Regions from separate parts of the Homo sapiens genome. Here regions 2 and 3 are each linked to region 1. The links are contacts of gene promoters, found by promoter capture Hi-C in human tissues and cell types (Jung and others, 2019). All regions are on one chromosome and are shown on one strand. The core of a region is centred on a gene start or on the middle of the fragment in contact, and the rest is flanking DNA. Distances in the headings are between cores, read along the strand shown.

The links. Contacts are between HindIII fragments. The study calls those that stand out against the background at their distance.
Region 2: a fragment that was not itself captured here is called in contact with the fragment with the promoter of ITPRIPL2 in region 1 in 2 of the 25 tissues and cell types used here (H1 embryonic stem cells and dorsolateral prefrontal cortex).
Region 3: a fragment that was not itself captured here is called in contact with the fragment with the promoter of ITPRIPL2 in region 1 in 2 of the 25 tissues and cell types used here (mesenchymal stem cells and mesendoderm cells).

What each region holds. Positions count from the first base shown.
Region 1 is chr16:19,112,247-19,115,390 of GRCh38, reverse strand. It overlaps ITPRIPL2 (ITPRIP like 2), which reads right to left and starts at 1,427. Exons shown (of 1, transcript NM_001034841.4): 1 at 1-1,427. The coding sequence starts at 929. RefSeq lists silencers at 866-1,235, 1,326-1,425. The HindIII fragment of the contact is 3,376 bases long and covers 1-2,304 here.
Region 2 is chr16:19,388,673-19,391,933 of GRCh38, reverse strand. All of the region lies in intron 1 of LOC105371114 (a long non-coding RNA gene), which reads left to right. Among named protein-coding and RNA genes, the nearest start is that of TMC5, 28 kb to the left of the region's middle. RefSeq lists an enhancer at 2,421-2,480. The HindIII fragment of the contact is 3,229 bases long and covers 1-2,864 here.
Region 3 is chr16:19,430,822-19,434,216 of GRCh38, reverse strand. All of the region lies in intron 2 of TMC5 (transmembrane channel like 5), which reads right to left. Among named protein-coding and RNA genes, the nearest start is that of TMC5, 15 kb to the right of the region's middle. The HindIII fragment of the contact is 5,510 bases long and covers 1-3,395 here.

The DNA of each region.
Region 1 (3,144 bases), core at 178-2,677:
ATGAGACGCACAGCCATAGAAAGGCGGCAGCAGCCGTAGTCAGTGCGGCAGGGCAAGATGTGTAAGGTGGGGGGCTGTTCCAGGCCACCTGGGGTCAAGGTGACCCGACAGCGCCCCTCCAGGCTGTAACGCACAGTGGCCAAGGAGCGCTGCAGATGCGACTGGAACCAGCGCAGCACCAGAGTAGCAGAGAGGTGACGCCGCCCGCGCACATCCACGCAGAAGGCATCAGCAAAGGGTTTGCAGTCCCGAAGCCAGTGGCCCCCCGAGGCCCCCGATGGTGAGGGTGGTGCCTTGAGGGCGCACAAGAAGCAGCCGCGGAAGGCCGGGGCCAGCGCTGGCTCCTCGCCCAGGCTCCGTGGCTCCAGCGCCACAAGCGGCGGGAGGCGCAGTGGCACCAGCACGTCGAAGCTGTCGGGCCGGCGGATTTTATGTTGCTCGTAGGCGCTGCCCACCTGGATGAAGTCTCCGCGGAAGGCCAAGGCCAGCGCTCCCCCAGGAATGAGACCGGGGGACCCCCGGGCGCGGCCAGCCCGCACCAGCTCGCCCACGATCCGGCTCACGTGCGCCTTGCTGTGGCCCAACACGTGCGGAGACAGGCGCACCTCATGCTCGTAGTAACTCTCCAGCAGGATGCTGAGGCCCGGCTCTCGGAAGTGTCTCGAGGAGAAGGCGGCGTGACCCTCCAGACGGGGAGACCCGGGCAGGAAGCGCTGCCGGACAGCGTGGCGACAGCGCAGGAGGACATAGCTGAGGAGGAGCAGGACGGCCACCTTAAGCAACGGGAAGCCGCCATCCACGCCGTCGGCGGGCTCGGCCCGGGCGCCCCCGCTTCCCCGCAGGACATGGTAGAGGCACACCAGGGCGGTGCACAGGCCGGTCACCAGGGGCCAGAAGACGCGTAGATTGAGGGTGTAGTGCACCGACATGCCGGGCGCCCGGGGCGGCGGTGGCCGAGCAGCCCAGGGGGCAAGCCCCGGCGGCGACCCAAGCCCAGCATGCGCACAGCGCCCGGGCAGCCCCGCTGTCCCCGTCTCCTCCTCCGCGGCGGCTTCCCGAACGCAGGCCCGAGGGAGGCCGCCCTCCAGCTCGGCCTCCTCTCCCAGCTCAAGTGTTCCTTCCAGCTGCGGCCCGCCCTGCGCTCTCGGGCCCCGGGCCGCGCCCTGCCCCGGCTGCGCGCTGAGTCCGGCCCAGCGGCCCTCCCCGCCCGGCGCCCCCGCGCGCCGCCGTCGGCCAGCTTCTGGCCCGGCCTGGCTCGCCTCCTACCCTGGGCGGCCCTCCTGGCTCTCCCGCCGCTCCTCTCCGCGCCTGACCCTGTTACTCGGACCCCGGGAGTTTCCTCTTCCGAGGGGGAGGCGAGGCCGCGCCAGCTAGCGGGGAGGAAATGCCGGAGTCTGGAGCCGAGCGTGGAGCTGGCGAGCCGGGTCGGCCCCCTCCCGGGCCTCCGCCTTAAAGCGACGCGGGGCGGCGGGAGGGACTTCAGGACGCTCTTGGAACTGGCCTCCCGCGGCCCACCCCCATCCTCCCTCCCCGAAGGCAGAATTGGGAAGGCCCTGATTCCGGGGCGGTAGCTTCGTCCAGGGAGCCTCTGGAGTTGCGCTCCCTTGAAGTTATACTGGGACGTTGAAAAGGAGAAAAGGGCGCACAGCCAGACTGTCCAGTCCTCCCCACCCCCACCGCACAAGCTGCGGTGGCGTGGCAGGCCCTGGCACAGGAGTGGCCCTTGCCGTCTGCCGCAGTCGTCTGTTCAAACCAGTATTCACCGAGCACCTACCATGTGCCAGGTCGGAGCCACAGTGCTGGGGAAATCATAGTTGACAAGATGGACAAGGTTTCTGTCCTTCGTGAAGCTTACAGCCTTGTAAAAATGGGAATCAAAAAAGGAAGGGGCTGGGCGCAGTGTCTCACGCCTGTAATCCCAGCACTTTGAGAGGCCGAAGTGGGCGGATCATTTAAGGTCAGTAGTTCGAGACTAGCCTGGCCAACATGGTGAGACCCCCCCCCCCGCCCCCCATCTCTACTAAAAATACAAAAATTAGCCAGGCGTAGTGGCACGCGCCTGTAATCCCAGCTGTTCGGGAGGTTCAGGCAGGAGAATCGCTTGAATCCGGGAGGCGGAGGCTGCCGTGAGCCGAGATCGCGCCACTGTACTCCAGCCTGGGTGACAGAGTGAGACTCCGTCTCAAAAAAAAAAAAAAAAAAAAAAAAAGTGGGGGGAAGGATTCCACAGCAAGAAAACGCTCTAAAATAAACAAAAGTGCCCGAGGGAGTGAGAAGGTGCTGGCTACCCTGTGGAAACCAGAGGATGACAGGGGTGACATTTGGCCTGAGACTTCATCGGAACATGCTGGTTCACCCCTGTAATCCCAGCACTTTGGGAAGCCGAGGCGGCGAGAAGATCGCTTGAGTGAGGCCAGGAATTCGAGGCTGCAGTGAGCTATGATAGCATCATTGCACTCCAGCCTGAGTGACAGAGCAAGACTCTTGTCTCTGAAAAAATAAAATAAATAAAATGAAATGAAATTAAAATAAAATTATTTTCCCAGTGGAGGAAAGGGGCACAAACAGGTTCAGCTCAGGCAGGTTCAGCTGCCCCCCTTCCCCCCTCCCCCACAAGGTTACACAGCCTTTGTAGAGCTGGGCAGAAACCAAGGGGTGGAACTCCCAGGAGGGGGCCCAGGGAAGGTCTCTTCCTCATCTGCTGGGAATTTTGGGGGTCCTTTGTCTGGGTCTACATTGGAACCTCAGTCCTAGGAAGCTTGTTTTGTTTCATAACAGGGAGCACTTCCTGAAATAATCTGATCTATTTAAATAATTGTCTTTCTTTATTCACACTCATTACACCTTCTTTGCTGGCACTGACCTTTAAAGAGAGCAAGGGTGAATATATTAAAACATGTTAGAACCCAGCTGCCACCTGGGAACCAGGACTCAAAAGATGGCTTCTGGGTTGTTCCCAGTAAATCCTAAATTGGGCCCCTGAGAGCTAAGCAGATCTGCCTTCAGATCCCATCTACTAATATTAGCTATGAGATCATCATCTACCAGTCAAGATTCTTAGGTTTGCAAGTGACAGAAACACAGCTCCAACTGGCTTAAGTGCACGCACGCATAGACACACACACACACACACATTATTGTATC
Region 2 (3,261 bases), core at 1-2,500, 280 kb before region 1:
CTCTATTTTTTTCACTCATCAAATGGGGCTAATAATAGTACCAGCTGTGTTTGGTGGCTCACACCTGTAATCCCAGCACTTTGGGAGCCTGAGGCCAGTGGATCACTTAAGTACAGGAGTTCAGGACCAGCCTGGGCAACATCATGTTGAGAGGTGGAGCCAGCTGGACTTGTGGGTCGAGTGGGGACTTGGAGAACTTTTCTGTCTAGCTAGAGGATTGTAAATGCACCAACCAGCACTCTGTAAAAATGCACCAATCAGCGCTCTGTGTCTAGCTAAAGGATTGTAAATGCACCAATAAGCACTCTATAAAAATGCACCAATCAGCGCTCTGTGTCTAGCTAAAGGATTGTAAATGCACCAATCAGCACTCTGTGTCTAGTTAAAGGATTGTAGATGCATCAATCAGCACTCTGTAAAAATGCACCAATCAGCGCTCTGTGTCTAGCTAAAGGATTGTAAATGCACCAATAAGCACTCTATAAAAATGCACCAGTCAGCACTCTGTGTCTAGTTAAAGGATTGTAAATGCACCGATCAGCACTCTGTAAAAATGCACCAATCAGCACTCTGTAAGATGGACCAATCAGCAAGACATGGGTGCAGACAAATAAGGGAATAAAAGCTGGCTACCCCAGCCAGCAGCTGCAACCTGCTCGGGTCCCCTTCCACACTGTGGAAGCTTTGTTCTTTCACTCTTCACAGTAAATCTTGCTGCTGCTCACTCTATGGGTCCACACTATCTTTACAAGCTGTAACACTCACTGTGAGGGTCTGCAGCTTCATTCCTGAAGTCAACGAGACCACGAACCCACCGGGAGGAACAAACAACTCTGGACACGCCACCTTTAAGGGCTATAACACTCACTGCGAAGGTCTGCGGCTTCACTCCTGAAGTTAGCAAGACCACGAACTCACCGGAAGGAAGAAACTCTGGACACATCTGAACATCTGAAGGAACAAACTCTGGACACACCATCTTTGAGAGATGTAACACTCACTGCGAGGGTCCGCAGCTTCATTCTTGAAGTCAGAGAGACCAAGAACCCACTGGAAGGAATAAATTCCGGACACAGTGTGACCCCATTCCTACAAAAAATATAAAATTTAGCTGGGTGTGGTGGCATGCACCTGTGGTCCCAGCTACTCGGGAGGCTGAGATGAAAGGATTACTTGAGCCCTGGAGATCCAGGCTGCAGTGAGCTGAGATTGCACCACTGCATTCCAGCCAGGGTGACAGAATGAGACCATGTATCAAAATAATAATAATGACAGTACCTATCTCATAGGGTGGTTCTGAGCATTGAATGAGGTAAGACCTGGAACATAACAATAACTGATTTTTAAAAATAATTTAAAAAATCTAAGTGTTACCAAAATACCAGGGGTTCAGTCTTGGTCCTGCTGCTCACCACACAGAAAGCCAATGACTGGGACAATGACTACTGCCAAGGAAGAAGGCTTTAATCAGGTGCTGCAGCCAAGGAGATGGGAGCTCAGGCTCAAATCCATCTCCCTGACTGACTAAATCTAGGGGTTTACATAACAGGGAAGAAATGTAACAATGTATAAGAAAACAGGAAGGGGCAAGGAAGCAATCATGATAAATGAGGGGTCCCATACCTCATTGTTCTGATGTGGTGATCTTGTGAGTTTCAGTTCTTTGATAGTTTTTTTTTTAAATTTATTTTTTATTTTTTGAGAGGTCTGAAGATGTTTTCTGAGGAAGGAACTCAGACAAAACAAATGTAAGTTTCAAGCTTTAAGACCAGAAGCGGCCAGACATGGTGGCTCATGCCTGTAATCCCAGCACTTTGGGAGGCTGAGGTGGGCAGGTCACTTGAAGTCAGGAGTTCGAGACCAGCCTGGCCAACATGGTGAAACCCCGTCTCTACCTAAAATACAAAAATTAGCTGGGCGTGGTGGCGCACACCTATAATCCCAGCTACTTGGGAGGCTGAGACAGGAGAATGGCTTGAACCCGGGAGGTAGAGGTTGCAGTGAGCCGAGATTGTGCCCCCACACTCCAGCCTGGGCAACATAATGAGACTTCATCAAAAACAAAAACAAAACGAAATAAAAACAACAACAACGAAACAACCAGAAGAGTCGATTTCCATGTTTAAAGAAAAAAAAGAAGTCTGTGTGTGGATCTATTGGGTCGGTTTCATAAGCATGTTACACTGTGTTCATGCAAGCATTTTTTGAGTGGCCCTTGATTCTGTCCAAATTTCTTCAGCTAACCTGATAGTGAAAACACTGGAAGTACGACATCATCTACTTTAAAGTTGGTAAAAACTAAAGCTCCTGGTCACAAAAGGGATTTCACTCAGTGCCTTTGGGAAGAGAAGGACGGAAAATTGCATAGCAACTAGAAGACAGGCTCCCCAGAGGGAGAACAGAGCTGTGGCCAACCCCTGGAGCACTCATAACTGAGATCATTTTATTGTGCCCTCTCCTGAGAGGATGGTGTTTGCACACAGCAGAGACATACAAAGGTGGCCCCTTAGCCTCCACGGGCAGGGACTGTGCTCTGCTTCCCGGCTGCAATACCTTTGTACCTGCGCCCCCTTGTGGGAAGTCCCACAGTCTTTCCAGAAGTGGGGTGCAGAAAAGGGTGTTAACCTAGACCAAAGAAACGGTGCTAACCAAAACTAAGAAAAGGGAGCCAACCTAGGGCAAAGTAAAGGTGCTAACCTGGACCACGGAAGGGAGCTAACCTGGACTAAGCACCTCAGGCTAGGAGTCAACTTTGCACCTGACATCATGCATGACCTCACTTAACATATCCATGAGGTGGCTTTGCAAATATGGAAACTGAGAGATACAGACAGACAAACAAAGAAAAACTTGCCTAAACTCATCTCATTAGGAAGCATCAGAACCAACATTCAAATCCAGATCGGTCTCCAATTCAGAGCTCACACCCTTTCTCCAATATTGCATTGTAGATGTGAAATGAAGTCAACCAGCCTATTTGTAGATCCAGCTGTATCACAATTCCATTATTCCATCCTATGTAATATCCCAAAATATGAAAACATCCCCCTACCCTCTAGAAAAAAAATATTTCACAATGGTCATGCCAGCAGGAGTGAGGTGGAGCTTGGGGCTATTATCTAAATGCCTTGTTATAACATGCATAATTTTCAAGATAAACTGTTCAACCAATTCTTAAATCACTGACCCATATAAACACAATAATCCCATGTATTTAATACCAGTACAGCATGTCTTTTAAGACAAAGTGGTCAGAAGACT
Region 3 (3,395 bases), core at 1-2,500, 320 kb before region 1:
ATACTATAGATATATAGATATATATATTATATATCTAATAGATCTATATATCATATATAGATCTATATATTATAGATATATATATTTTAGATATATAGATATATATATAATATATATATTATAGATATATATATATTATATATAATATATATAGATTTATATTATATATATTATATATATAATATATAGATTTATATATATATTATATATATAATATATATATATATAAATTAGCTGGGCATGGTAGTACATGCCTGTAATCTCAGCTACTCAGGAGGCTAGGCGGGAGGATCGCTTGAGCCAAGAAGGCTGAGGTTGCAGTGAGCTATGACCGCACCATTGTACTCCAGCCTGGGCAACAGAATGAGACCCTGTCTCAAAAAAAAAGAAAGAAAGAAATAGGAAATGTCTTATAATCAGGTAGAGGAAGGAGCAATCCTGCAAAATTCCCAGGCCAACATAGTGACTGTAACTGAGAACTAAATTTTGCCCTGAGCTTCTTATTAGCCAAGACTAAAAGGGAATCATGACAAGTTATCTAATACTCACTATGTGTGGCAATAAAAAGGAAGTATACCAGTTTTTCAAGAGGACTACACTTCCTCCCAAGATCAATTTCTGAAAATAATTTATCATGAGAACTCTTTCAAAGGGATCGAATAACAATGTAATGAAAGCCAGGACTCAGGGTCACCAGCAAACAAAGCACTCAGAAGCTCTAACTCCAAGAGGGGCTGCAGGAGTGGAGTTGGGGAGAGACTCTGGAGTCCCCTCCAGGTCATTGTGCTGCAGGAAGACAATCGCATATGGCTATCTTTGGCCAGTGGGCTGTGAGCATAAGTGACTGTGTCACTTCCAAGAGAAAGCATTCAAAAGCCAAAATGAGACCCTCTAGCTCCCCTTCCACTGCCATGGGAACCAGTGATATTCCCAAAGGGGACCCAGTCACCAGCCCGGGTTCCTGCATGACTGCATGGCTCACAGCCCACCTGCACCTACCCACAGTAGCTTTTCATGAGCAAGAAACAAACCTTTATGTTTTAAGACATTTAGATTTTGAGATAGTGTTATTTTGATGCAGCAGAGTTTAGACTAGCCTGACTGATACAAATCATTTTGGTCTTTGTTTTGAATCTTTGACAAATTTATATATATGTATGTATGTATATAACTTCATATTGTATGCGTATATGTGTATTATATGTGTATATTATATGTATATACACACAAAGATATCCATACAATTTATGTATATATTTATTCATATCTACATATATAATAGATCTACACATATAATATACATTATATATACACATTCATAGAACACACATACAAAAACACACATAGATTAGATAGACAGATAAATAGACAGATGGGTAGATAGATGATAGATAGATAGAAAGATGGATGTTATATGTGATCAGCCAACAATTAGCTTCAAGTCTGTTGGACAGTTCTCTGTTCCATTGCCATTTGACAAGAGCTTGTGTATTGCACATCTGTTTCACAGTTGGGAACAAATGCTGTAACCATACCACCTGCACTGCAACAAATACCTAAACAAACAAAGAGCTAAACCCACAGAAAAGGATTGGGAAAGAGAGAGGAGGAAATGGCCATAAGGAAATAGTCTCTCACACTGATGTCACATGAAGTGGGAGTGGCCTTCTGAGAACCTTACCCTTAGCTTCCTGTTAACTATTAGAGGAGTAAATGAGGTATGCTGCAGGTTCAAAGGAATGATACTGTTTCCTGTTGCCTTGGAAAAAGCACAAAGAGGGTACTATCCTACTTTCTTTCTTCCTGGTTTTTCTCTAGCACCTCCTCAATAAGGGCTATTGAACCATCTATTTCAATTCCTCCTTTCCATATCCCATTTAGGGTTTCTCACTTCACCATTTGAATGGTTTTCAATCACATGCCCAAGCAATGACATGTCTTCTAAGGCTGTTAATTGAGGACTCCTTACTTGATGTTGCAAGGCTTCCTGGTTCGAATGGGTCATCTAAGTATCTTGTGTTTGTCATTCAGCTAATTCAGAAATCTTCTAGGGATCAATTACATCCTAGAATATGGATGAGGTCACAGTCAAGCTATTTACCTGGCTCTCTGCCGCCTCCCACTTCTCCCCGCCTCAAGCTAACATAAGGCCAGGCCAGCCACCCACGAGTTCTGTTCTGCACCACCAAAATGATCTCACGAAACCCAGACACTCAGCCAGAATTGCTAAGGATTGTCAGGCCAAGCTTTGTGTATAATGACAAAAAACTGGGAGCAATTCAAAAATTCATCAACAGGGGATGGGCTGAATCAGTCACAGGACATCTGCACAGTGGAATACCATGGAACCGTCACAAAGAATGCTTTAGATCTACAGGTGCCAGCAGAAGATGGCCAGCTGTGATTCTTATCTTTAATCTCCTTTTCCCATCTCCTGCCCTGGGCCTGGCTAGAACATGTGATCATGAAGCCTGTGAATTGTCCAAAGGTTAATTTTTCTAATTGAGGCCATTTATTACCTGAAAGACAGGAAAGAGAAACCAGGGCCTTACAAAACAGCAAATTGACCAGCACCAAGAGCAGGAAGTTGCCCCGAGAGAGGCAAAACAAGGCCACAAAGTCCAATTTCAGCCGTACATTTTGTCTTCTTCTTCTTCTTTTTTTTTTTTTTTCTGAGATGGAAGGTCCCTCCTGTTGCCCAGGCTGGAGTGCAATGGCACGATCTCGGCTCACAGCAACCTCCGCCTCCTGGGTTCAAGCGAGTCTCCTGCCTCAGCCTCCCAAGTAGCTGGGATTACAGGCACCTGCCACCATGCCCAGCTAATTTTTTGTATTTTTAGTAGAGACGGGGTTTCAGTATGTTGGCCAGGCTGCTACCGAAGTCCTGACCTCAGGCAATCCACCCACCTTGGCCTCCCAAAGTGCTGGGATTACAGGTGTGAGCCACCGCGCCCGGCCCCCACGTTTTATCTTCTAACGGGGTGAACTTTGTCATGAAAACCCATGATTAACCTCTTAACATAAATGAAATCAATGTTCTATATGCTAGTGATGATCCTGTAAATAATGTAAGATCCCTACATACTTAAGACCCACAGTTAAAATTATGAAAATGATTCTACAGAAGTTTTTAACTAGTTCCAATGAACCATCATTTATTTGACTTAAAACAGACCAAATAATTTTTAAAAAATTGTTTTTGTTGTGGCGCGTGCCTGTAATCTCAGGTACTCAGGAGGCTGAGGCAGGAGAATTGCTTGAACCAGGGAGTGGGAGGTTGCAGTGAGCTGAGACCGTGCCACTGCACTCCAGCCTGGCGACAGAGCGAGATTCAGTCTCAAAAAAAAAAAAAAAAATTGTTTTTATTGCAGAGAGTGGAGAGAAGGAAAGAAATT